Linked DNA regions of Homo sapiens: all the other regions are linked to region 2. The links are contacts of gene promoters, found by promoter capture Hi-C in blood cells and fetal thymus (Javierre and others, 2016). All regions are on one chromosome and are shown on one strand. The core of a region is centred on a gene start or on the middle of the fragment in contact, and the rest is flanking DNA. Distances in the headings are between cores, read along the strand shown. Region 1 has its middle 87 kb from the start of RTL3. Region 2 holds the start of P2RY10 (P2Y receptor family member 10). Region 3 has its middle 120 kb from the start of RTL3. Region 4 has its middle 67 kb from the start of RTL3.

What was found. Contacts are between HindIII fragments. The CHiCAGO score rates a contact against its expected background, and 5 or more counts as called.
Region 1: a contact is called between a fragment that was not itself captured here and the fragment with the promoter of P2RY10 in region 2, in 3 of 17 cell types (megakaryocytes, activated CD4 T cells and M2 macrophages). The highest score is 8.2, in megakaryocytes.
Region 3: a contact is called between a fragment that was not itself captured here and the fragment with the promoter of P2RY10 in region 2, in 5 of 17 cell types (total CD4 T cells, activated CD4 T cells, non-activated CD4 T cells and 2 more). The highest score is 7.3, in total CD4 T cells.
Region 4: a contact is called between a fragment that was not itself captured here and the fragment with the promoter of P2RY10 in region 2, in 1 of 17 cell types (megakaryocytes). The highest score is 5.3, in megakaryocytes.

Annotation. Positions count from the first base shown.
Region 1 is chrX:78,568,426-78,576,311 of GRCh38, reverse strand. No RefSeq gene overlaps it. Among named protein-coding and RNA genes, the nearest start is that of RTL3, 87 kb to the left of the region's middle. The HindIII fragment of the contact is 4,074 bases long and covers 2,298-6,371 here.
Region 2 is chrX:78,943,820-78,950,665 of GRCh38, reverse strand. P2RY10 (P2Y receptor family member 10) reads right to left here and starts at 5,275. Exons shown (of 4, transcript NM_014499.4): 1 at 5,171-5,275; 2 at 2,803-2,851. The HindIII fragment of the contact is 3,107 bases long and covers 5,232-6,846 here.
Region 3 is chrX:78,531,285-78,538,122 of GRCh38, reverse strand. No RefSeq gene overlaps it. Among named protein-coding and RNA genes, the nearest start is that of RTL3, 120 kb to the left of the region's middle. The HindIII fragment of the contact is 2,590 bases long and covers 1,659-4,248 here.
Region 4 is chrX:78,588,744-78,596,540 of GRCh38, reverse strand. No RefSeq gene overlaps it. Among named protein-coding and RNA genes, the nearest start is that of RTL3, 67 kb to the left of the region's middle. The HindIII fragment of the contact is 9,536 bases long and covers 1-7,797 here.

The DNA.
Region 1 (7,886 bases), core at 3,085-5,584, 370 kb after region 2:
TGTGTGCGTGCATGTGTGAAGGCACAACTTCTTCACTTCCTGCTTGCACAAGTGTCAAAGTATGCCATAAGTGTTAAAGTAGAACACTTGGGTCTTCTCTGAGTATGCACAACATCCTGGTCATGCACACAGCCCAAAGGATGCATGTGGCCTCCTAGATTCTCAGAAATATGTTAGAGTTTTTCAAAGCCTCTACAGACATGTCATTCTCCAGATTTTCTTTTTAAGATGTTTGGTTATCTTATTGGCTTTTCCTTCTGTTATCCACTGCTGCATACACCTGTGAAGTTAAACCATTGTCTGTAAGTGTTTTCAACAAATGTCCCTGAGGGGAGGGGCTTTTTTCCACTGAATAAACTCTTGAGTCAAGTCAAATATAGTCTTCCAAAGGGGTGTCTTCCAGCGAACCATCACACAAGTTGAATAGTAAAAATCCTCTGAAAATGAAAGTTAAAAGAGCTCCATCTCCAAACTTCCATTTCTAGTGGCTGCCAGGCTGCTGGTTTTTACCCTAATTTTGAGTTGCTGATTTTCATAGCTGCTGCAGAGATAGAAGCAGAGAGTGAAAATAGGGCAAGTTATAGTTCCACAAAGCTCACTATTCTTCCTGAGATTCATCTGCTTTTCTTAACACACAACAGAATTCTCTATTAAGTAGATAATGCGGTTAATACAGGTGACCACACACGTAATTTCTACCTCTCCATATTTTAGAATATGTTATCAGTTGTCCCAAATAAAACTGTTTACTCTGCTCTAGAATAGAAGTGTAGGAATAACATGTACTACGATTTCCTTTGGAATAATGGTACAGTGAAAGGTACAGCATAGACACGACCTCTGGAACCCTATCAGCCTGTCATCTTTCAATAGGCAGGCTTGTTGTGTGGAGGTCCTAGAACCTAGGTGTGGGAAGAATAGAAGGGGAAATATATAAAACAGCTGAAAGCAAGTCATGGTTTTTGTCCTAATTCTAATTCCAATAGACTTTGCTGTAACTCAGTAAACTCTATTTCAGTTGTTTTCCAACACTTCTCTTAGTTATCCACAGTATATTAAGGGATTTGCAGGTTTCAACAGGGATCAAAATCAGGCTAAAGCTGGAATATACTCTTAGAACTGCTATCCAAGTACCCTTCCAGATAATAGCTTCCTAAAAGTCTTATTGCTCAAAATCCTTTTCTATTACTTAGAAAACAGAACAAATAAGAATTGAGTTGGGAGGGAACAGATATTCAAAACAGTAAATTTGTTTCAATAAGTATTTGTTGAGTCACAATGTACATAGCATTATACTAGGCACAGCTGTAGGGGCTGAATGGAGGAAATAAATGCAGATATGAATTATATAAAGCTACTACCCTCCGGAAATATACACCTAAGCAAGAGAAGTCTAAAATAGAAATATCAAAAGACACACGTCAAAATAAGGAAACTGCCTATTAAAGAGTACTAGCAAAGTACTCCAAAGATGCAGAAGAGAGTAGAGCACCACAAGGCCATTTGAAATGGACCACAAAGGGTGAACAGGATTTTTCACTAAAGTGAGCATAGGCACTACATGCTGAAGGAAAAAGAATCCAATGTCACTTGTTAATTCAATACTTGTAGGGTAGAAGTGTCTACAATTCAGAAACTAGTTGAGAGCAGATCATGAAGGACTTTGAATGCAAGGTGAAAGGGTGTATTTTTTTCTGTAAGCAATAAAAAGCCAAAGGCTGATATTGTTAAGGAAGTGTTTGACATGAATGAGGTTGTACTTCAGGAAATCAAACCTTGAAGTCATGTGCAGAAGGAATTGCGGAAACAGGTGGTGGTTGGGCAGGGAAGATAGCAGTAAGAAGTCTGGTGAGATGTTGCAAGGCTCTGGATAATAAAGTATTATCATAGGCCAGAACAACACCACAAAGCAATAAAATGTTGGTTTTGGTGCTAGGTTGTCCTAGTCCATTCTTATCCACAGCCCTTTATTCTCCCACGTCTATTGTCATTTCACCACGTATTTTCTGGTGATATTTGTTCCAGGTTTTTTTTCTCTCTCTCCTGATACTAACCTACTCTCAACCCCCAGGACTTCTTGTTAGTATCAGTACCCCTGGGCCTTGCTCTTTGTTGTCCGCACTTAATTATAAAATGTTGGAGCTAAGATCACGCAACTTATAGAAGAGCCAATTTGACATCAGGTCAAGTTGACTCCAAGTTTTAAAAATTCTGTATACATGATGGGGAAACTGAAGTGCAGAAAGGAAAGTGATTTGTCAAAAGTCACATATGAAATCTTTGTCTCAACTGAAGCTTGCAGAAAAGAGACTTAAGAGATTAAGGCCACTCCAATGTTTCTTCCGCTGGATTACATTGCCAGGCTCCCAAGCTGTTATTTATCGCTGAGTAAACTTTAGGCTACAAGGTGTTGGGTTGGTGGTATCTGGTTAGTTACAGCCATGCTGACTGGACTTAGGCCAAAGATCTATGTGTACTCAGCCTCTTCCAGCAACACCACACTCCCCTCAGTTAATCTTAGTCCCCAGCTGTCAAAACAGGTGGTACATGGAAAAAGCCTGAGAAAGCAGCACTGCTGAGAGAGGAGAACAAAAATGCTGAAGTCTGAGAGAAATTAGGTTACTAAGAGGGCTGACTGAAGAAGGAAGCCATAGAGCCTCTTTCAGGCAGGCAGAATATATGGGGGTAAATGAATAGTAAAATGTACATACAAGAAAATGCAGAATGAGGTAGAGCAAGATGGCCAAATAGAAGCCTCCACTGATCATCCTCCCTGCAGGAATACAATTTTTTTTATAACCACCTATTCAAAAAGCACCTTCATGAAAACCAAAAATCAGATGAGAGATTGCAGTACCTGATTTTAACTTCATATCACTGAAAGAGGCACTGAAGAGGGTAGGAAGGACAGTCTTGAATTGCCAACACCACCCACCCCCCGACCTGGTGTCAGTGGCCTCATGGCATGGAGAGAGAATCTGTGCATTTGGGGGAGGGTGAGCAAAATGAATGTGGAACTTTACATTGCAATGCAGTGCTAACAACATTGGGAAGAACTCAGCTGATGCCTGTGGAGGGAGCATTTAGACCAGCCCTATACAAAGGGGAATTGCTCATCCTAGCAGTTGAAACCTGAGTTTTGGTAAGCCTCACCGCTGTGAGCTAAAGCACTCTAGGATCCTAAATGAACTTAAAAAGCTGTCTAGGCCAGAAGGACTGCAATTCCTAAGCAATTCATAGTGCTGCGCTGGACTAGGGGAGTCACATGACCTAGCGAGACACTATCCAGGGCAGCTAAGGGAGTGCTTACATCATCCCTCCCCAAACTCCAGGTGCAGCCATCAGCTCCAAAAGCAAACCCTTCCTTCGGCTTGAGAGGAGAGGGAAGAGTGAAGTGGACTTTGTTTTGCAACTTGGATTCCAGTTCAGCCACAATAGAATAGGGCACTAAGCAGAGACAGGAGGCCCCAATTCCCAGCCCTAACTCCTGGATGACATTTCTAGACACACCTTGAAATTGAAGGGAATCTGCTCTCTTGAAAGGAAGGACCGAGTTGACAGGATTTGTTACCTGCTGATTAAAGCCCTCATTGGACCTTGAATAATCAGCACCGATAACAAGAGAATACATGTCATGGGCCTTGGGTGAGACTCAGAGAGATGCTGGAATAAGGAGTAACCAAGCATATTCACAGCTGTGATGGCTATGAAGATGGATAGACTCCTTCTGCTTGAGAAAAGGAGAAGGAAGTATAAAGGCAACTTTTTCTTGCAACTTAGGCGCTAGCATTGCCACACTGGGAAAGAGCACCAAGTGCGCTCTTGGGGTACTCAATTCCACATCTTTGATCTTGGATGGCATTTCTGGACTTTCCCTGGGCAAGAGGGGAGACCACTGCTGCTGCTGTGAAGGTGAGTCACAGACCTAGCAAAAACTGCTTGACAAGCCCTTGGGCTTTAAGGAAACATTGGCAGTACTTCCTGTGGACTGGTGGTAGTGGTGGAAGAGGTGAGAAACACCCCTGCCTGAGGAAATGGGAGGAAAGACTGAGAAAAACTTTGTCGTGTGGTTTCAGTGCCAGCTTAGCCAAAATAGAATAGAGCACCAGGTAAAATCAAAGGTTTCTGACTCTAGGCAGTAGCTCCCAGATGGCAATTCTGGACCTGTCAGGGGCCTAGAAGAACTTGCTTTCCTGGAGGGAAGGACACAAGATTAACTGGCTTAACCACCTGGTATTTGTAGACTCCTAGGTCCCTGGACAAACATAGGTGGTAGCCAGGTAGTAGTTACAGCAGGCCTCGGGCAAGGTCCAGTACTGTATAGGCTTCAGATCAGACCCAGCACAGTCCAAGTGGGGGTGGCCACAGGGATGTTTGTGTTATCCCTCACCCCAGCTCCAGGCAGCTCAGCAAAGAGAGTGAGACTCTGTTTGTTTGGGAGAAAGTGAGGAAAGTGAATAAAAGTCTGTTCTTGGAAATCCAGGAAATTCTTCCAGATCTTATCTAAGACCACCAAGGTGGTCCCTGTACAAATCTTCAAGAAATATGATGTTACTGGGCTTGGGGTGCCACTAATGGAAATACAGATATAGTGCCCAAAAACTTAAATCACAACACCTAAGTCCCTTCAAATACCTGGAAAGCCTTCCCAAGAAGAATGAGTACAAACAAGCCTAGACTTTGAGGACTACAATAAATACCTAATTATTCAATGCCCCCAAATCACCAAATATTCATAAGCATCAAGACCATCCAGGAAAACATAACCTCAGAAAATAAACTAAATAAAGCACCAGGGACAAACCTTGGGGAGACATAGATATGGTGACTCTTCAGGCAGAGAATTCAAAATAGCTGTCTTCAGGAAACTCAAAGAAATTCAAAATTACACAGAGAAGAAGTTTAGAATTCCAGGAGATAAATCGAACATGGGAATTTAAATAATTAAAACGAATCAAGCAGAAATTCTAGAGGTGAAAAATGTGGGTGACACACCGAAAGATGCATCGGAGTCTCCTAATAGCAGAACTGATCAAGCAGAATAAATAATTAGTGAGCTTTAAGACAGGCTATTTAAAACTACACAAAGGAAACAAAAAAAAATGAGGCACGCCTAGTAGATTTTTAAAAGGGCAAATCTAAGAGGTATTGGACTTAAAGAGAAGGTAAAGAAAGAGATAGATGTAGAAAGACTTACATTTCATATAATGGGTGTTGAATACACATTCTTCTCAACACATGGATTATTTTCAAAGATAAACTATTATGTTAGGCCACAAAACAAGTATTAAAACATCCAAAATATTAAATAATATTTAGCATCTACTCTGACCACAATGGAATAAAACTAGAAATCTATAATAAGAATAATTTTGGAAACTATATAATCACATGGAATTTAAACAATATTCTCCTGAATGACCAGTGGGTCAATGAAAACAGAAAGAGAAAATTCATAGGAGAAAAGAAATAAAGATCAAAGAAGAAATAAAGAAAATTAAAATTGAGAAAATAATACGAAGATTAACAAAACAAAAAGTATTTTCAAAAGATAAAAATAATAAAACATTTTAACCAGACTGAGAAGAAAAAGACAGAAGACAAAATAAATAAAATCAGAGATTAAAAGAGAGACATTGCAACCAATTCTGCAGAAACTCAAAGGTTTATAGAGGTTACTATGAGCAACTATGTGCCAACACATTGGAAAACCTAGAAGAAATAGGTAAATTTCCAGACACATAAAATCTACCAAGATTGAACCATGAAGAAATCCAAAACATAAATAGAACAGTAACTAGTAAAAAGATTGAAATCATAATGAAAAGTCTCCCAGCAAACAAAAGCCTGGGACACAATGTCATCACTGCTGAATTTTATGAAACATTTAAATAAATAATACCAATTCTACTCCAATTATTCCAAAAAATAGAGGTAAATGGAATAATTCCAAACTCATTCTACAAGATCAGTATTACCCTGATAACAAAACCAAACACTTATCAAAAAAAAAGCCAAAATCTCTGATGAACATTGATGCAAGAATTCTCAACAAAATAGTAGCAAACTGAATTCAACAACACATTAAAAAGAACATTCATCATAACCAAGTGAGATTTATCCCAGGGATTCAAGGATGGTTCCATATATGCAAATTAATTAATGTGATATATCAACACAATGAAGGAAAAAAACCACATGATCATTTCAATTGATGCTGAAAAACCATTTGATAATATTGAACATTTCTTTATGATTGAAAAAGAAAACCTCAAAAAACTGGGTATAGAAGGAGCTTACATCAACAAAATAAAAGTCATATACAATGGCCCACAGTTAGTATCATACTGATTGGGGAAAAACTGAAAGCTTTTCCACTAAGATAGGGAACATGACAAAGATAACCACTATCACCATTGTTATTTAACATAGGACTGGAAGTCATAGCTTGAGCAATCAGAAAGGGAGAAAAATAAAGGGCATCCAGACTGGAAAAGAAGTCAAATTATTCCTGTTTGCAGATTATAGGATCTTATGTTTGAAAAAATCTAATGATGCCAGCAAAAAATTAAAACTAATAAGCAAATTCAAGGAAGTTACAGAATACAAAATGAACAAACAAAAATTGACAACATTTTTAATATGCCAAAAGCAAACAATCTGAAAAAGAAATCAAGAAAGTAATCCCATTTACAATAGCTACAAGTAAAATTAAATATCTATGAAATAACTTAATCAAATACTTAAAATACCTGTACAATTAAACTATAATTTACTGATGAAAGAAATGTAAGAGGACAAAGATGGAAAGATATTTTATGTTCATAAATTGAAATAATCAGTATTGTTAAAAAGTTCATATTGCCCAAAGCAATCTATAGGTACAGTGCAGTCTTTATCAAAATATCAAGGACATTCATCACAGAAAGAGAAAAGGCAACTATAAAACTTATGTGGAGCCACAAAAGACCCTGAAAAGCTAAAGCTATTCTGAGCAAAAAGAACAAAACTGGAGAAATCACCTGAGTTCAAATCATACTACAGAGCAACAGTAACCACAACAGCATGGTACTGGCATAAAACCATATGCACAGATCAGTGGAACAAAATAGAAAACTCATTTTTTGGTCATTTCCTTCATTAGGGTTTTATAGTTTTCATTGTAAAGATATTTCACCTTGGTTAAGTTAATTTCTAGGTATTTAATTTTACATGTGGTTATTATAAATGGGATTACTTTTTAATTTCTTTTTCACATTGTTCACTGCTGGCATATAGAAATGCTACTGATTTTTGTATGTTGATTTTGTATCCTGCAACTTTACTGAATTTGTTTATCAGTTCTAATAAAAATAAAAACAGACTCATGAACATGGAGAGTAGAAGGATGGATACCAAAGGCTGAGAAGAGTAGTAGCGGGCTGAAGGGTAGGTGGGGATGGTTAATGGGTACAAAAAATATAGAAAGAATAAATAAGGCTTACTATTGATAGCACAAGAGTGACTACACAGTCTGTAATAACTTTATTATATATCTTTAAATAGCTTAAAGAATGCAATTGCTTAGTATTGTTTAGGCTATGCAGGCTCTTTTGGGTTTCACATGAATTTTAGGATTGTTTTATTCTTGTTCTGTGAAGAATGATGATGGTATTTTCATGGGAATTGCATTAATTTGTAAATTGGTATGGGAAGTATGGCCATTTTAACAAAATTGATTCTACCTGTTCATGAGCATGAGATGCGTTTCCATTTGTTTGTGTCATCTGTGATTTTTTTCAGCAGTGTTTTTTAGTTTTCCTCATAAAGATCTTTCACTTCCTTAGCTAAGTATATTCCTAAGTATTTTATTTTTCTGCAGCTGTTGTAAAAGGGATGGAGTTCTT
Region 2 (6,846 bases), core at 4,026-6,525:
TATGGCAAATTGCTGCCCACCAGGTGTCAGGATAGGATTATATCAAAACCAACGTTCTTTATGGAATTGTGCTTATGAATTCAAATTATAACAAATCTGTAGATAGAAGTAATGGAACAATTTCTTTACAACAGGAGTGATCTGAATAGGACAAGACTTGCTGTAGGATACAGAAGACTCAAAAGCAGTATAATATATAGAAAGGTGTACTGGATTTGTAGCTAAGATACTTGGATTTCAGTAATTTTATATACTCTTTGTGCTGCTCTGATACGCTCTTTCCCTTCTGTGAGTTTCATTTCCTCATTATTAAAATAATATGATTTGAACTAGATGACCTTTAACTCCCTTCTAGCTCTCATTTGGTATGATTTCATGAGAATTCCCCCTCTGAACCCTGCTCCTAACTAATATCATCACCATTGACACTGCCACCATTTATGCAGCTGGTACCAACTCCATAAATCTTCACTCTCAATCTTCCCTGTCTTTTCACCACTCATCAGTAAGTCACTGGCACCACTAAGTAAACATGTTTATCAAATTTACTTCTCCATTTTATTTGATGCTGAAGCCTGTCTGTGGGCTTGTCATCCTGGGAGGGGAAGAAAAAATTAAACAGAGAAAACAAGTTGCTGATGGGGGCCCCTCCCACTCTCTAGAGGATAACTTTTACATGTCATCTGGGAACTTAACTTGCTTTGCCTCATCTTACCTTTTTCTTTTATTTTTTAACCACTAAATTTCACATGAATTATCCAAGCCAATCTGATCTCCATGACCCCGGTGTTCTTCATTCAGCCGCTTACAACCAGAACCAAAGAGTAGCAGCTAGAATTGGAAACTCTGCTGTTTCCTGAATAAATCTACATCAACTCCAAATAAGCCTGGTTGACATGAGATACACACAAATTTGGACACATTCTGCAAGTACAGACATTTTCTTCTGTTAGAGGAAGTGAAAATTATTTTTATCCTTAAAATGAATTAAAGCAATTAGACCATTAACAAAACAACAACTTAAAGTTTGAATTTGAACTTTCATGCAGGAATATGTATTGGACTTTCAATCATTTAGGAAGGCGGCCTAATTAGATATCATTTTTGCAGCTGTGGCAGCATTTTATGGGTGGAAATAATCATGTTCTTTGGAAGACCTGGTATCATATCATGTCTCAATTGTCGGTTCTCTGGCCTGAAACAATTCACTTCATATCACCAGGCTTCAGTTTCCTCTTTTGTAAAATTAGAATGGTTCCTGCCACATAATTTGTTTTGAGCATTAAAGAAAAATGTGTCTGAAAATAATAATCCGAGTAAACAGACAACCCACAGAATGAGAGAAAATATTTGCAGACTATGCATCTGACAAAGGACTAGAAACTAGAATCTACAAGGAACTCAAACAAGTCAGCAATAGAAAGAGAAATAATCCCATTATAGAGTGGGCAAAGGACATAAATAGAGATTCCTCAAAAGAAGATATACAAATGGCCAACAAACACGAAAAAATGCTCCACATCACTAATCGTCAGAGAAATGCAAATTAAAACCAGAATAAAATAGCACGTTACTGCAAGAATGGCTATTATTAAAAAGTGAAAAAAAAATAGATGCTGGTAGATATGTGGATAAAAGAGAAAGCTTCTACACTGCTGGTAGAAATGTAAATTAGTACAACTTCTATAGAAAACAGTATGGAGATTCCTTAAAGAGCTACAAGTAAATCTACCATTTGATACAGCAATCCTACTAATCACAATTGCAAAGATGTGGAATGAATCTATGTGCCAATTGACTAACGAGTGGATAAAGTAAATGTGGTGTATATACACTATGTAATACTCCTCAGCCATAAAAAGGATCGCAATAATGTATTTTTGCAGTAACTTGGATGGAGGTGGAGTCCACTATTCTAAGTAAAGTAACACAGGAGTGAAAAATAAAAAAAATAGATGTTCTCACTTATAAGTGACAGATAAGCTATGATTATGCAAAGGTATACAGAGTGATATAATGGAATCTAGAGACTCAGAAGAGGGTGGGTGAGACAGGCTAGGCATAAAAATATTACACATTAGGTACAACGTGCACTACTGAGGTGGTGGGTGCACTAAAAATCTCAGAATTTACTGCTATATAATTTACCCATGCAACAGAAAAAAACACTTGTAGTTCAAAAAATATTGAAATAGAAATGAAAAAAAGAAAATGTGTGTAAAAGTACCTATTTTCATGTCTGATACCCAATAAGTATTAAATAAATGTGAGTTCATTTCCTCTTTATTTGTACACAGAGTCATCTCCAAGGGCCTTTGGTTGGATCCTGTACATTTCTGGATTTAGAAAATCCCCTAAGAAGTGTAGTTGTAGCAGAGGACTAGAATATCTAGAGCAGTAATTTTTAAAGTTAAAGGGTAGAAAATAAGTGTTACTTGATAAAACATATTCCTTATTATAACAAATATATTTGGAAAACAAAATAAAAAATGTCATTATTGTTTCTACAATACAAACTGTGAAAGTACAGATCTACAAAATCCTCTTAACTGTTGGGCACTTAGTACTTGGAAAATGTCAATGTGATGGAGCAGATTTTTCTACAAGTCCAGGGTCTGGTCCCTAGGAAGGCAAGTTCACAGTAACCTTGTAGTGAAATGTTTACGTTTCTCAAAGGGAACCTTGGGTTTAAAAGATTGAGAAATGCCAACTGAGTGTCATTGTCACTGTGGAAATTAGATTTCAGAAAGTTTTATCTTTTGTCTTGCATTTTCTCATTTTTAAAAAAGGGAAATTACTTACAAAGCATTTGCCTGTGGTCTAAAAGTTGAAGCTGTCATGATAACATTACCTGAAAGAAATATAATGGCAATTGGGAAAGGATACTCAGTTCTCTTGGAGATCTGAACTACATTTCCAGAATGTCCTCTCTAGATAGATTTCCCTATTATGGCCCCATTATTCACCACTCCATAACATTTAACTATTCTTAGGTATCTAACAGTCTAACTCAAATCATTGGATTGCTAGGAAGGAAATTAGGAACCATCTATTCCAAGCCCTCTCCCATTATAATAGATGAGATTATTGAGATGCACAGAAATGAAATAACTCACCGAAGGCCACACCAGTCATTGGCAGAACTTGAACTATAACACAGACTTCTGACTCCTTATGTATTGATCTATCTATTTGATCACTCTACCTGTGATGTATATGAACTGATACTAGGAGAAAACTTCTCCACAAAATATACTGATCTGAAGAATAAATAAACCTTTTTGCCAAAAGCTTTTAAAATAAATCATAGACCACCGGGGAACCATTGCCCTGATTGTTAGTGCTTTTAGAAAGTCTCATTTTACTATAAACAGCTTTGTTCTCTTTGCTTGAGCCATGACAGAGAGCTATAGTATAGATAGGCAGCCTATCTTTTTTTTATTTTTTTTTTGAGCCAGAGTCTTGGTCTGTCTCCCAGGCTGGAGTGCAATGGCACAGTCTCAGCTCACTGCAACCTCCATCTCTCGGTTTCGAGCGATTCTCCAGCCTCAGCTTGCCCAGTAGCTGGGATTACAGGCGCCTGCCACTGCAACCAGCTAATTTCTGTATTTTTTAGTAGAAACGGGGTTTCGCCATGTTGACCAGGCTGGTCTCGAACTCCTGACCTCAGGTGATCCACCTGTCTCGGCCTCCCAAAATGCTGGAATTACAGCGTGAGCCACCAAGCCCAGCAGGCTGGCCTGTCTTTTAAAACCCCAACTCACTTATTTCAAACCAAAACAACCCATAAATGTGTTTATTCATTTGATGTCTTCAGATTTGAGTAGTCTGTACAACTTGAACTCTACAACTTTCCCAGTTGAGCCCCAAAATAAACTGCATTTGGCCAAAGAATCTGTGTTCAACAGGAACCATTGCAAAAACAATTGCCCCAAATGTGTGATCTGATTCTGACTGTAGTTTACACCATTTTCCACCTCAGTATATCTGCATATCACCTACTTTCATAAGTGGTTAATTTTACTGTGCTGCAATTGCTAAGAGATAGATTCTCCAATTAATATACATCATAATGACTCCACACATCCATTTGAACAACTGAAATAAAAATATTCTCACTTGCAGGATTCTTGGAACTGAGCCTACTCCCCTGGAAAGCACAGCCAAATCTGGTATCATTCTATCCAGCCTTATCCTGGTTCCAAATGATTTGGCACAGTCTCCCTTCAGGGACTCCTTAGCTGAAAGTCTCCTTTTGATTTAGTCATCTTAGCTCAGAAGGAGAGAGGTGCTAGTATTCAGAGTAATAGCAATAATAACTGAAAAAATGAGTGCCTCACTCATGGGCTTTGCTATCCAGTAAGGCTGAACTTCGGTCAAAATTAGCTTTCAAAGGATCAAGGAACCACTCTGACCAGACTCTGAAGTCATCTGGGATACTTTCTCCTTTCCTATCCTAAAAAATGGCAGGGTCACAAATAAATTTACAGTATTCTCTGGGAGATGCAAACTGCTGTAGGAAAAGGCAAACATGAGTTTAAAGACACAGGTCCTAGATCCACCTATACCACTAACAAGCTGAGTGAACCTAAGTGTCTTCACTTCACTGGCTCTCAGTTTTCCTGACTGTATTGTGAGGGATTTGGATCTCTATGGGCCCTTTCAGCCCCCAGAATCTATTACCCTGCTTTCTACTATTTGTCTCAGTATCTCTGAAAGCTAAATTTTCCAAAGCAAGGATTTTATACCCAAAAATCTTCCTTCACGATGCAGCTAGATAAATTATACACCATAAAAAATTAAATTGACTTTTATTGGCCGAATATGTCAAGTTGTCCCAATGAGTCTCACTGAATATACTCTTCTTACCACTTTGTGCCATCTTCTCTGGTCCCACTCTCTAAAGAGCCCTCATCAAAGAGTGAGCTGCATCACAGACTCCATGCTCCTGGCATAATGAAGAGGACTGATGGCATTAACGTTAACTTTGGACTCTGGTCAAACTCAACAGTAATTATCTTTGCTCCTGTTGTAAGATGTCTGAGATGAGAAACCAGTGACAATTTTAATACAGACACTGGCCCCACATCCACCTCTGTTCTGATTTTTATGATCACACCAATCTTCCCACATGAAACCACCAATCCCCAGGTGCTAGGCATTAACTTACCCTGGAGCTTAGCTGGGATAAGCACTCTTGTTTCTTTGCAGGGAGTAAAGGGTAGAAAGCTTTACTCTGGCGGCATGGATCCTGCTGATAACTGACACATTTGTTGTTGAAAGAGGAAGTTGAGTTTATCTGGTGTCTCACCACAGAAACCTTATTTGCACAAATGAAAGGTAAGTCCCTTGAGCAAATGACGTTACTCAAATTTTATTTCTTTTTATTTCATTGGTGCAGAGAAATTCAAATAGCAGGGAGTCAGAGGCTATGCATACTCACACAATGGCTATATAACAGCCTTCCTCACCCTATCTCCTTCCTTGACAACCGACATATCTAGATTTTCACTGATTCCAGTAGGTTCCATGGTAAGATGAAATTTTCAGGAAAATCTAAAGAGTGTTTACCTAGTAACAAGAAAGCTACAGCTTGTGCAAGCCTGAGGGGCAAAGGCTGAGGAAACCTAAAAAATACAAGTCAAAATTAGAAACAGTAGAAGTACCTTTGCTTAAGTTGTTCCCTCCATCTGGAGTGCCCCTCTCCCAACCCCTTCATCTTGAGGCTCACAATTTAACACATAGTTTCATTATTTTTGTATATTTATTATCCCTTTACTAGACTGCACACTGCTTGAGGGTAAAGATCATGTCTGATTCATATCTGTATTCCCAATTTGTCCAGCACAAGGCATTTTCATGAATTGTTATTGAATGAATACATATGGGAATTAATAAATAAACAAATGCTCAAAGAATGCATGAATAAGTAAATGAACATTATTGATTACGGGGTCTCCCTCCAGTGTACTAAAATTCTGGTTTTTATGTACAGTGTATATGGGGCCTTCAAAACTATGTGAATACAGGAAGATCATACACTTGAGGACTACAGTGTCAACTAAGTCTGAGAGTAGTTTTGAGAAACGAGGTTTAAAATGCAGCACAAACCCCTGTTGGCGTGTAAGGGAAAGAGAAGCTGACAGTATTGGAAACTAAGAGCTTGGGATGATTGATGGAAATGTCATAACTTGTGAAGACTGGCATCATCCTGGCTGATGTATGTCAAATGAAACAAGTTTAGCCTTTCAATCCCCTTCTTAATTTTGATTTCAAATGTTTATTCAGCTCCTATCTTTTGTTAATTTAGGTTTCTGAATTGGCATCCCTACTGAAAAGAGAATACACTGACAGACCAACACACATCTCAGTCCATTTGGCAGTTGTGTTCCTCCCTATGGTTAGTGTGAGCCAGTTTTCCTAGGGTAAGATTCTTCTCTGAACAAACAAAAAAATTCCAGACCTGTTGAGCTTTGAAGGCAAACCCTGGGATCCAGAAATACAAGAAATCCTTTTCTTACAACTGGCTATGATCACCACATCCCAACTTTATTTCACAGACAAAACCTTCACATTGCGAGAAGGAAACCTACCAGTTTACTTCATTTCTGTCTTGCACGCAAGCAGCTTCTTCTGTCACTGACCCTAAAAAGGGAAGAAAAATAAAACCAGAAGTCAGTGTCCCAATTCAAATGAAAAATTTTAACTCAGGTAAATTTTGAGTGTTAATTATTGATATGGTTTGGCTCTGTATCCCTTCCCAAATCTCATCTTGAATTGTACTCCCATAATTCCCACGTGTTGTGGGAGGGACTTGAAGGCAGTTCATTAGAATCATGGGGGCAG
Region 3 (6,838 bases), core at 1,704-4,203, 410 kb after region 2:
CTAGTAAGAATGGCTATTATTACAAAGTCAGAAAATAACAGATTGTCACAAGGTTGCAGAAAAAAGGAATGCTTATTATACACTACCAGTGGGAATGTAAATTAGTTCCGTCACTGTGGAAAACAATTGGAAGATTCATCAGAGAACTCAAAGCAGAACTACCTTTTGACCCAGCAATCCCATTATTGGGTATACACCCAAAGGAATATAAATCATTCTATCAATAAGACACTTGCACTTATATGTTAATCACAGCATCATTCACAATAGCCAAGACATGATATCAATCTAGATGCCCATCAATGGTGGACTAGATAAAGAAAATGTGGTACATATACACCATGGAATGGTGACCAGATTATCCATGGAATGGTGACCAAGTTATAATATGCAAAATCCAGAGGAATTTAAACCAGCAAACAAAAATTTGGCCATAAAAAATGAAATTATGTCCTTTGAAGCAACATAAATGCTCCTGGAGGCCATTAACCTAAGCAAATTAATGCAAGAACAGAAAACCATATACTGCATGCTCCCACTTATAAGTGGGAGCTAAACATTGAGCACACATGTACACAAAGAGAGGAACATAGACACCAGAGCCTACTTGACGGTGGAGGGTAGGAGGAGGGTGAGAGTTGAAAAACCATCGAGTACTATCCTCACTACCTGAGTGATGAAATCATTTGTATAAAAAATCCCAGAGACATGAAATTTACCCATTAAAAAGCCTGCACATGTAGCCCATGAACCTAAATAAAAGTTGAAAGAGAAATAATAGAAACATCAAAGCAGAAGACAAGAAATATAGCTTAGAAAAAATAGTATGAAGCTGCTTTGGAAAATGTAATGAACATTATCCTTTTATTTTATCGGACTTGCTTTGGGTAGATGACAAAGGTGACATTTGTTCCATTCAGAAAATTAAAAGCTAGACCTCCACAATGTTATTTATTCATGGGAAATATCTGGGTAGTGCAGAATCACTCATCAGTCAAGCAGGGTAATGCTTATCTGGGAGTGGGGGGTCAGGCTTCTAACAACCTCACTCATCTGGAATGCAGCCACAAAACTAGAATTCAGGAGGAATCGTCTCTATCCAAAGATAAAGATATGGTCAAGTCTGCCAATTTTTCTCAAAGACAATTGACTTAGCATTATATCAAAAACATAATGTCTCTAGTTAAATAAATTTCTTCTTTATCTGTTTTCTCCTAGCATCTCTCAGTTTGGCCTGTTACAGAAGACTACAGATATGATCATGGATAAACCCAACGAAAATCAGTATCTGACAATATGTAAAATGACATGGTAGTGTCATTAAATTGAGACCTGAAATTGTGGATCAGTTTAACCCAGAGTCACAGTTAGGCAAACCACAAAGCAATCTAAGAGGAGATCACAGCATAACAGCATTGCACCACTTATGTGGCTATTAAGGACCCTGCATCAAACAACAAAAAGATTACTTTTTTTTGTTCAAATCCATTTATCTGTTTATTTAAGCAGGAAAACAAATGTAATACATCTTAGAGTGCCACCTAAAATAGTTAAATGTTCCAATGTTTTAGTACTTAAAGGGGAAAATTCCATGATCCTCAATACCACCAGGTCAATGAGGCTTTCGTGTTCACTGGAAGTACTCTATGTGCCAAGCTTATGTAGAGAATAATTTAATTGAATTAAAAAATGTGCTATCAATGAACTATTTTATACAAGACATGAACTAGAGGCTGAGGTCAGGGAAGGTATTGCAAATGACAAAGGCATAAACTCTGTGCTGTAGTCATGGAGAGAAGCAAGGAAACAGGTAACTAGTTCAAGGAAGATGGTGAGAAATGCTGGCAAAACGAGATTATATGTAATGACAAGAAGTGGGACAAAGGAAGGGTTCTGCATTTGGCCTAGGGGAGATTTGGCAAGGCCCCTGGGACTGGCTAACATTTGAGCAGATCCTGAAGAATTTAGCAGGTGAAAGGTAGAGCAAAGTGATAGAAGTATATAGTAAATTTAAACAAAGGCAAGTATTCTGGTGTATCTAGAGAGTGACGGATTATGGTAAGAGATAAGGCAGGAAAGATAATTGAAGATGGCCTTGAGTTAAAAGATGAGTTTTTAATTTTGTCCTACTGGCAATGGGTAGCCATTGCCAATTTAAGCAAGAGAATGATATAAGTAAAGTTTTTTTAATACATATATATTTTATTATACTTTAAGTTCTAGGGTACATGTGCACAATGTGCAGGTTTGTTACATATGTTTACATGTGCCATGTTGGTGTGCTGCACCCATTAACTCGTCATTTACATTAGGTATATCTCCTAATGCTATCCCTCCCCCCTCCCCCCACCCCACAACAGGCCTCGGTGTGTGACGTTCCCCTTCCTGTGTCCAAGTGTTCTCATTGTTCAATTCCCACCTATGAGTGAGAACACGCGGTGTTTGGTTTTTTGTCCTTGCATGGATGAAGCTGGAAACCATCATTCTCAGCAAACTATCACAAGAAAAGTTTTTATTAAGGATAACTGATATAGGCCAGCTGCAGTGGCTCATGCCTGTAATCCAAAAACTTTGGGAGGCCAAGGATGGTGGATCACTTGAAGTCAGGAGTTCGAGACCTGCCTGGCCAACATGGTGAAACCCTATCTTTACTAAAAATACAAAAAATTAGCTGGATGTGGTGGCAGGCGCCTGTAATCCCAGCTATTTGGGAGGCTGAGGCAGGAGAATCACTTGAACCCAGGAGGCGGAGGTTTCAGGGAGCCCAGATCAGGCCACTGCACTCCAGCCTGGGTGACAGTGTGAGACTCTGTCTTAAAAAAAACAAAAAAGAATAACTGATCTAGAATGGCAAATCATTATAGCTATTCAGAAGAAAACATACATAAAGGCCTAAATTGGGTAAACAACATTGGTAGAAGAGTGTTTCTGTGTATGGTATTTTTTTTTAATTTCCAGGGAATTATAAAGTATGTTTTTATTAATCTTCTTAAAAAGAATATCTCTCGTTTGAATAAAACCAGAATCCTGTAATTTCAGTATTGTAAGTCCTCTTAGAAATTATAGCCCAACCCTATTGATGGTACAGATGATGAATCTGAGATCCAAACAGTAGAAGGGACTCGTCTCAGGGTCACATGGCTTGTTAGTGGCTTTTGAAAAATCAAAGGTAAAGTAACTGCCTACAGGTGATCATCACAAAGATAACCCAAGAATGAACTCTTTGTGGCTATCCCCAGGTTTACAAGATGCCAAACATATTGTAGGGCACCAAAAGCAAAAACTATGCTTAATAATCTAGGTTTTTCTCTAAATTAGAAAACATCTTAAACATTCAGACATCACTGGAGAGTCTTGGTCTCAGATCTGAATCTTGAAAAACCATGACAGGCAATTTGGTCAACCAGAATTTCCATCTAAGAGCCTGATCCTATATTGCAGAAATATTTTTTGACATAGGATATTGTTGCCTTTTCTTGCTGTTTTTCTTAGCACTAGAGATCACACTCCAAATTGTTTGTAAGTCATTTTGACCTGTCATAAATAAGTGCAGAACCATGATACTTCTCTGCAGCAACTCAGACTTCATTTTGGAGTTACAGAAGCATCGTATTTAACTCAACTACAAAAAGCAGACCCAAATTTCCAGGCTAAAACCTCCTGTTCAGTATTGCTTCAGACTAGGAAAATATTGCTATTTAAAACTAACTTCTGTTATTTCTGGCTTCTGCTCAAATTACGCTTTTCACAAGAAACAAATCCTCATCCAGAAGACAGAATTAGGAATCCAGCCTGAGTGAGTAATTTGGGCCTCAGATTTTTAATCTGTAAAATAAGGCCTAAATAATAACTAATGCTCTTCTAATCTGAAATATTCTTTTTTCTTCATGTCTTGTTTTCTTACCTTCTTCAGAAATTCACTCAAATCAAAATTCTCCTTCTCAATTAATCCACTTTATATAAAATTTAAATGTACGCCTCCTCTCACTATTACATACTCTTTTTTCATGCTTTATTTGTTTCTTTGTAGAACTTATCACCACCTTACATACTACATATTTCACTTGTGTAATTATTTTCCATTCCATTCACTGGGATATGAGCTTCACAACAGCAGAGATTTTTGTTTTGTTCCATGACATGAGCCTAGGATGCTCTCTTTCATATAGTAAGTAATACATATTTGTTGAGTGAAAGAATGAATGGTTCTATTTTAAGCATAATTGAATATCTGAAATTGTGAAAGCTTCTTGTAGGTCACATTTCTGATATTGAATACAAATTTTAGTACTAAGTATATATGTCTTCACACACTTTGACATTTTATAGTCAAATGTGCACACTATATACTCATTTATACTATTTCTATTTTGAAAACCAGAAAGGTTTCTAGTATCTTTTTTTCCTAACATACTGATTGTCAAGTATAAGCTCTATTCAGTGTCAATGTTTTGGTCATAAATTCAATCCTCAAGTGTAATATAATGTCAATGAGAAAATTTTTACCACATTCTGCTTTATATTTAGTATCCAGGGACAGATGCTGGCAGAAAGTAAAGACTGCCTGTTTTTGCCTACAGAAACCTACCAATTTGACATTCTTCAGAATTAAACTTTTTTTAACTATATAAGTTTCTGGCCAGAATTCAGCATATAATCAAATTTCTATTTATTCAAGTTTAATTACAGTATCCCACTATATATGCATCTATTTTTAAATAAACTCCTTGAAACAGAGTTCAGAAAAGTGATGCTTCATGCCTCTATTTCACACATTTAAGAAAACATTTTCCAACAGTAACTGTAATGTCAAGTTTTAAGAACCAGGTAGTAGAAAAGTAAAATAATGGGAATGAAAATACAAAGTCTTAGTAGTAAATCTATACCCAAGTTAACAAGGGGAGCTATTGAAGGAGAAAGGAGTAATAAATACACAGCTCAAGGGGAATATGCAGTAAGGGCATATTTCCTTAAGAATACAAATAAGAATAAGAGATAGTCTTACCAATGGTGATTGGAAAGTTTATGGACAAATTATGTAACAGCTCAGATATCCAATGTCTTCAGAAAAAGGGTATTCCGAATATGTAATTGTCTAGAAAGTTCAGCTCCTTAAGAATCAAAATTTGCCCATAAAAATATTTTATAGGACATTTTTAAATATCTTGCTCAGTTTGCCCCTTCTTTTAAAAAGCATACTGAACATATATAATGTTTACTTTCTATAATTGAGTAGTTATAATAAAGCTAAACCCATGTTAAACTGTTTCTTTTTACCAATTCCTGGAAAATGAGTTTATGTGGAGTTGGTTTTCTATAGAGACCAGTGCAACTGTGCCTTCAGTCTGTCTCAAACAATCACAACATAAGTTTATCTTTCCCAGGATTAGCCAAATATTTAGTGTTAAGTACTGAAAATCATATACCTTTTGTATTTCATTTTTCTTTTCTCCATCTCCATCTCATAAATCATTCTTCCTGGCAATCTTCCTTTACATTAAAAAAAAAAAAAGAACCACTTAGCACTGTTTATTTCCTGGCTCTCCTCCTGGTTCTGTTTAATCTCTTAGTCAAACTCTCTGTTTAAGATCTTTCTGCCCTTCTGGCAGTAGCTGTGGTATTGGCAAGCACTGGGACAGTATTCCTGTCAAAGTAGATTTTTCTGGTGCCCAAAATGATGGAAAGTATCACCACTAACCCCTAATTTTACTTCCCCATATTCAGAGAGTAAGACTTTTAAATTTACATCCCCATTTTAGGAAGTAATAGATAAAATTAGAGACTGCTTTTGCCATTAAGCCATTTTAAGAAAGCACTTGCCTGAATTGAGCAGAGCTCCTTTAGAGGTGCTGAAAGGATGTTTCCAGGTCCTTTCTTTGATCTTCAAAGAATGAAAACAGCATTTAGGAAGAAACTTCCGGAGTCTGTGGGCTGAGACCATTTTTGTTACTTCATTCTCGTCCTCCACAGTACCTAGAAAGGAAGGAAAGGAGGAGCAAGGAAAGGTATATTTTGGATTTTGCAATCAACAAAGTCATACAAGAAAGAGAAATAAGGAAGGAAATAAAGTATTGGGAAAATTCCACTAAAAATGAGTGAGTTTCCAAGATACTTGTTTTATGCCCCCCTCCATTTCCAGCTCAAGTCCTGTCTTATTCCTCCACTAGAACTTTTCAAAACCAAATCCTACAGTACACACTCTGCCTACAAATATCTATACCCCCTTATATCATTTTTCCTCCTTTTCAATCCCCAAAAGTTCTTGTGCTCCATTTCAATGCTAGTGAGACAAATGTGACAATTAAAAAGAGGTTCCTGTTCAAGAACTTGGTCCCAGTTCTTTACTTATTAAGATAGGTCATTTGACACAAAACATGGACTAATTCTCCTACTCTGATTCACTATGTGATATATAAATAATTGGTTTTAAAAAAGTACATCCAGACAAAAAAATATGCCTGCATATAGATCCTACTTAGTGTATCTGCTTAAGGCACCTCAAGCTTTAGTCACCAAAGTAATTAGAGTTGGTATTTGGGAAAACCAGACTCCCTTGAACCATGAAAGAGATATATGAAAAAACAATAAGTGTCCATACACTCATATCTAGGCCAAATTGCAAGTGTCCATTAGTTTGGAATTCAGAGTTTGGGGATGTGGTAATAAACTCAATATTTGTGACATAGCTAAAGTATCACACAATTAGCAAGACTTTTGCTAACTAACCCAGCACAAAATGTACTTTTCCTCTTGTAAACATTTACTTGATTATGGGTCACTTTTTATACAATGCTCATTTTTTTTACATGTCTTATCTACTCATACATATTTAAGAGAT
Region 4 (7,797 bases), core at 2,961-5,460, 350 kb after region 2:
AATTTTCTTGGCTCCCTTGTTGAAAATCAATTAACCATAAATGTATGAATTATACCCTATGTCACTACAACTTGTCCCCTCTCCACTGGGCCAGGGGAGAACTCAGTGCTCTGAAGTAAGAAACACAAGCCTGGCTGGATTAAACACTTGTTGACTGAAGAGCACTTGGGCCTCGAGTAAAGATCTGTGGTAGCCAGGAAGTGGTTGCTGCAGGCCTTGAGTAAGAACCAGTCTTACACTGGCTTCAGGGCTCATCTGGTAGTATCTCAGTGGTGGTGGCCAATGAGGTGCTTGTATTACCGTTCCCCAAGCTCCAGGGATCTCAGCACAGAGAGAGTCTCCATTTGTTAAAGGAAAAGTAAGGGAAAAAACAAGAATCTCTGCCCAATAATCCAGATAATTCTTCCAGATCTTTTCCAAGACCACCATGAAGGTACTCTAAGGGTCTCCAGGGACCACAACATTACTGGGCTTAGGGCGCCCCCTAATGCAGATACAGCTTAGATCACAACACCCAATTACTTTCAAATCTGGAAAGCCTTCTCAGGAAGAATGGCTACAAGTAAGCCTAGACTGCAAAGACTATAATAAATGTTTATCTCTTTAATACCCAGACAGTAATGAACATCCACAAACTTCAAGGTCATCAAGAAAAACATGACCTCCCTCACAAAGCAAGCTAAATAAGGCACCAGGGATCAAACCTGAGAAAGACACATATGTGATCTTTCAGACAGAGAATTCCAAATAGCTGTGTCAGAGAAAACTCAATTAAAAATAATACATAAAAGGAATTCAGAATTCTATCAAATAAATTTTTAAAAGAAATTGAAATACTTTTTTTAAAAATCAAGCAAAAATTCTGCAGCTGAAACATGCAACTGACATACTTAAAAATGCACCAGTCTCTCAACAGAAGAATTGATCAAGCAGCAGAAAGAATTAGTGAGCTTGAAGAGAGACTATTTGAAAATACAGTCAGAGGAGACAAAAGAAAAAAATAAAAAAGAATAAAGTACACCTACAATATCTAGAAAATAGTCTCACAGGGGTAAATCTAAGAGTTATTAGCCTTAAAGGAGAGGTAGAGACAAAGATTGGGCTAGAAAGTTTATTTAAAGGAATAACAACAGATAACATCCCACACATAGAGAAAGACATCAATATTCAAGTACAAGAGTATTGTAGAACACCAAGCAGATTTAACTCAAAGAAGACCACCTCAAGGCACTTAATAATCAAACTCCCAAAAGTCAATGATAAAGAATGTATCCAAAAAGCAGCAAGAGAAAATAAACAAATAACAAAAAAAGGCTCCAGTACATGCGGCAGAAGACATATTAATAGAAACCTTACAGGCCAGAAGAGGGTGACATGGCATATTTAAAGTGCTGAAGGAAAAATACTTTTACCATAGAATAGTATACCTGGGGAAAACATCTTTTAAATGTGAAGGAGAGATAAAGACTTTCCCAGACAAACAGAAGCTGAGTGATTTTATCAACATTGGACTTATCATACAACAAATGCTACAGGGAATTCTTCATTTGGAAAGAAAAGGAAATTAATGAGCAATAAAAAATCATCTGAAGGGACAAAACTCACTGATGATAACAATAAGTACACAGAAAAACACATAATATTATAACACTGTAATTGTGGTATGTAAAGTACTCATATCTCAAGTAGAAAGGTGAATAAATGAACCAATCAAAAATAATAATAACAACAACTGTTGAAGATATATACAGTACAATAGGGTATAGAAAGAAAGAACAAAAAGTGAAAAATCAAGGAGACAAAGGTAAAGCACACACTTATTAGTTTTCTTCTTGCTTGTTTGTTAGGTTCTTTGTTTTCACAATCAGTGTTAACTTGTCATCAGTTTAAAATAATGGGTTGTAAGATGTTATTTGCAAGTCTTATGGTAGCCTCCAATAAAGAAATCTACAACGGATAGACAAAAAATAAAAAGCAAGAAGCTCAAACATACCAGCAGAGAAAATCATCTTCCTCAAAGGAAAACAGGAAGAAAAGAAGAAAGAGAAGACCAAAAGAGAACCAGAAAACAAATAAGAAAATGCAGACGTGAGTCCTTACTTATAACATTGAATGTAAATGGAATAAACGCTCCAAAAAAAAGTCAAAGAATGACTGAATGAATTAAATAAAACAAGCCCCAACAACCTACACAGCATGAAAATAAAGGGATAGGAAAAGATATTCCATGCAAACAGAAACCAAAAATGCAAGAGTAGCTATACTTATATCAAACAAAATAGATTTCAAGACAAAAATTATAAGACGAGACAAAGAAGGTCATTAAATAATGAAAAAGGTAGCAATACAGCAAGAGAATAAAACAATTGCAAATATATGCAACCAGATGTATAAACAACCAGATGTATAAGCAACCAGATGTATAAAACCAATATTATTAGAGCTAAAGAGAGAGACAAACTACAAAATAATAAAAGCTGAAGAGTTCAAAACTCCACTTTTAGCACTGGACAGATTATCCAGACAGAAAATAAACAGAGAAACATGTAACTTAATCTGCAATGCGAATCAAATGGACCTAATAGATATTTACAAAAAATTTTATACAACAGCTGCAGAATACACATTTTTGTCCTCAACACATGAATCATTCTCAAGGACAGATCATCTATTAACCCACAAAACAAGTCTTAAAACATTCAAAAAAGTAAAATTATACCATGCATCTTCTCCAACCACAATGGAATGAAACTAGAAATAAATGACAAGAGGAATTTTGAAAACTATACAATCACATGGAATTTTTTTTCATTGTTTCTGAGTGAACAGTGGATAACTAAAGAAATTAAGAAGACAATTTAAAAATTTATTTAAACGAATGAAAAAAAACACAACACTATTGTATACGGTAACTGCGGTTCTGACAAGAAAACTTATAGCAATATATGCCTATATCAAAAAAGTAGAAAAGGAAGAGGTGGAGCAAGATGGCAGAATAGAAGACTCCAAGGATTGTTCCCTCTGCAAGAACACCAAGTAAACAGCTATCTACCCAGAAAAAAAAAGAAAAGAAAAAAGAAAACCTCCATAAGAGCCAAAAATCAGGTGAGGATTCATAGTACCTGTTTTTAACTTCGTATTTCCAAAAAGGACACTAAAGAGATAGAAAAAAACAGTCCCGATTCACCAATGCCATCTCTCCACCACCCCAGGCAGCAGCTCTGTGGTGCAGAGAGCTTCTCTGGGTGATGAGGGAGGGAGAACATAGTAAATGTGAGGCATGGATCTCAGTGCTGTCCTATTAGAGCAGAAAAGAAAACCAGAACAAACTCAGCTGATGTCTGCCCCAAGAGGAAACGTTTAAACCAGCCCTAGCCAGAGAAGAATTGCTAATCCCAGAAGTCCAATCCTGAATGCCCACAAACCTTGCCACTGAGAGGGAAAGTGTCCTCTGTCTCTAAACTTGAAAAGCAGTCTAGGCCATAAGGACTGCAACCCAGGCAAGTCTTAGTGTTAGCAGTGGCAAATCCATACAAGTCTGCTGCAACCTCAATTCTTGCCTCCTCAGAAGAAAATTCAACTGAGAGCCATAAGGCAGAGGGAGAGATTGAGGCCAGTTTTAGGGTAGGAGTGAAAGTTAATTAAAAATTTTTAGAGCAGGAATGAAAGGAAGTAAAGTACACTTGCAAGGGGGCCAAAAGAGCGACTTGAGAGAGTCAAGTGTGTCATTTGACCTTTGACTTGAGGTCTTATATGTTGGCATGTTTCTGGGGTTGCATTAATTATCCCCTGATTCTTCCCTTGGGGTGGGCTGTCCATATGCACAATGACCTGTTAGCATGTGGGAGGAGTCACATGCACAATGTGTTTACTGAAGTTATACACATGTGCACTTGAGGTGTTCTTCCTTTACTCGTCAAGTATCCTAGAGGAAGGTCATATACTAGTTGAATTCCACCACCCAAAATTTCATCATGAATTGTAATCCCCATTATCCCTATGTGACAAGGGCAGGACCAGGTGAAGGTAATTGGATCATGGAGGCAGTTTCCACCATGCTGTTTTTATGATAGTGAGTGAGTCTCACGAGACCTGATGGTTTTATAATTTCCCCTGCTTGCACTCACTCAGTCCTACTGCCCTGTGAAGAAAGTACCTGCTTCACCTTTGCCTTCTGCCATGATTGTAAGTTTCCTGAGGCCGCCTCAGCAATGCAGAAGTCTGAGTCAATTAAACCTCTTTCCTTTCTAAATTACCCAGTCTCACGTATTTATTCATAGCAGTGTGAGAATGGACTAATAAAAGTTCTGACTCAGCATATTCATAGTGGTGGTGGCCACAGGGGTGCTTGTGTCACTCCACCTCCAGTTTTAGGTAGCTCAGAACAGAGATAGAAACTTTGTATATTTAAGAGAAAGTAAATGAAGATAACAAAAGTCTCTGCCTGGTAATCAAGAGAATTCCCCCAAATCTTGTCCAAGGCCATCAATGTGGTACCTCTACAAGTATTCAAGAACCAAAGCATTACCAGGCTTGGGGTGCCGCCTACACCAGAAATAGCTTAGATCACAACATCCAGTGTTTTTCAAATAGCTGGGAAGCATTCCAGAGAAAAACAGCTACAAATAAGCACAGACGGTGAATACTACAATAAATACCTAACTCTTGAAGACCTAGACACAAAACATCTACCAGCATCAACACCATCTAGGAAATTATGACCTCAAAAAATAAACTAAATAAAGCACCAGGGACCAATTGGAAGGAAGAGACACATGTGAACTTTCATACAGAGAATTCAAAATCGCTCTGTTAAGAAAACTCAAGGAAATTCAAGATAACACAGAGTAGGAATTCAGAATTCTATCAGATAAATTTAACAACGAGGTTGAAATAACTAAAAAGAATATAGCAAAAATTCTGGAGCTGAAAAATACATTTGACATACTGAAGAATGCATCAGAGTCTTTAATATCAAAATGAATCAAGGAAGGAAAGAATCAGTGAGTTTGAAGACAGGCTATTTGAAAACACAGAGCCAGAGGAGGCAAAAGAAAAAAAAACAATCAGATCTACATGATCTAGAAAATAACCTCAACAGGGTAAATCTAAGAGTTATTGGCCTTAAAGAGGAGGTAGAAAAAGAGATAGGAATAGAAAGTTTTTTCAAGGGGACATTAACAGAGAACTTCCCGAATGTAGAGAAAGATACCAATATTCAAGTACAAGAAGGTTATAGAACACGAAGCAGATATAACTAAAATAAGACTACCTCAAGGCATTTAATCATCAAACTTTCAAAGGTCAAAGATAAAGAAAGGATCCTAAAAGCAGCAAGAGAAAAAATAAATAAATAAAATACAAAGGAGCTCCGTTACATTAGGCAGCAAACTTTTCAGTGGAAGTCTTACAGGCCAAGAGACAGTGGCATGACATATTTAAAGTGTGGAAGAAAAAAAAAACTGTTACCATATATCATATAATAAAATATCTGAAAAAATTCTTCAAACATGAAGGAGAAATAAAAACTTTCTCAGACAAACAAAAGCTGAGGGATTTTATTAATACCAGAGCTATCCTACAAGAAATGATAATTTCTTCAATCAGAAAAAAAAGTCATTAATGAGCCATAAGTAATCACCTGTAGGTACAAAATTTACTGGAAATAGTAAGTACACAAAAAATACACAATATTATAACACTGAACTGTGGTTTGTAAACTACTCTTACCCTAAGTAGAAAGACTAAATGATAAACCAATAAAAAATAGTAACTATAACATATTTTCAAGACATAGTACAATCAGATATAAATAGAAACAACCAAAAGTGGGACAAAGTTGAGAAGAGTTTTTTATTAGTTTATTTTTGTTTGTTTGTTTCTCTACACAAGTAGCCTTAAGTTGGTATGAGGTTAAAATAATGGGTTCTAAAATAATATTTGCAAGCCTCATGATAACCTAAAACCAGAAAACATACAATGGATACACAAAAAATAAGAAGCAAAAAACTAAATTATATCACCAGAGAAAATTATCTTCACCAGCAGAAGACGGGAATAAAAGAAAAAAAGAAAGAGAAGACCACAAAACAACCAGAAAACAAATTACAAAGTGGCAGGAGTAAGTCCTTATTTATAAATAATAACATTGAATGCAAACGGACTAAATTTCCCACTTAAAAGACATAGAATGAATAATATATATATATATACATATATATATATCCCTTGATCTTTTGCCTAAAACAAACATACTTCACCTATAAAGACACACACAGACTGAAAATAATGAGATGGAAAGGATATTTTATGCTAATAAAAAATAAAAAAAGCATGAGTCACTATATTATATCAGACAAAATAGGTTTCAAGACAAAAATTTACAAGAGATAAAGAAGGTCACTATATAATGATAAAGGGCTCAAATCAGCAAATATATATGATTTTTATATATCATTATAAAATTATACCTATATCATTTATTATATATGATATGTATTTTATATGTCAGTATAAAATCATATAATTTTAAATATATATGCACCCAACACTGGAGCACCCCGATATATGAACCAACTATTATTAGAGCTAAAGAGAGAGATAGGCTCTAATACAATAATACCTGGAGGCTTTAACACCCCAATTTCAGCATTGGACAGGTCTTCCAGAAAGAAAATCAAGAAACATCAGACTTAACCTACACTATAGACCAAAATAATCTAATAGCTATTTACAGAACATTTTATCCAAGAGCAGCAGCATACACATTTTTCTCTTCAGCACAAGGTATATTCTCAAGAATAGATCGTAACTTATAGTATACAGCAAAAGCAGTAGTAAGAGGGAATTTTATAGCTGTAAGTGACAACATCAAAAAGAGAATAATCTTCAAATAAACAATCTAACAATGCATCTTTAAAAACTAGAAAACCAAGGGCAAACCAAACCAAAATTACCAGAAGAAAAGAAATAATAAAAATCAGAGAAGACATAAATGAAATTAAAATAAAAAACAAAGAAAATTAATGAAACAAAAAAATTGTTTTTTAGAAAAGTTTAAAAAATGACATATCTTTATTCAGACTTAAAAAAAGAGAAAAAATGCAAATAAGCAAAATCAGGAATGAAAAAGGAGACATTACAATTGACACTGCAGAAATTCAAGGAATCATCAGTGGCTACTATGACAAACTATATACCAATAAATTGGAATATCAAATTTCTAGATGCATAAATCCTACCAAGATTGAAACATGAAGAAATCCAAAACATGAACAGGCCAATAACAAATAGCAAAATCAAAGCCATAATAAAAAATCTCCCAGTAAAGAAAGTCCAGGACCTAAGGGCTTCACTGCTGAATTCTACCAAACATTTTTTAAAAATCTAATACCAATCTTACTCAAACTATTCCGAAGAATAGAGGAGAAGGGAATACTTCCAAACTCATTTTACAAGGCCAATATTACCATGATACCAAAACCAGGCAAAGGCACGTCATAAAAATAAAGCTGCAGGCCAATATCTCTGATGAATATTGATGCAAAAATCCTCAACAACACACTAGCAAACCAAATTCAACAATACACTAGAAAGAATACTCATCAAGTCAAAGTGGATTTATCCCTGGGATGTAAGGATGGTTCAACATATGCAAATCAAACAATGTGATACATCATATCAATAGAATAAAAAATAAAACTACATGATCATTTCAAAAACATTTGTTAAAATTCAACATCCTTTCATTATAAAAACCTTCAAAAAACTGGGTGTAGATAAAACATACCTTAACAT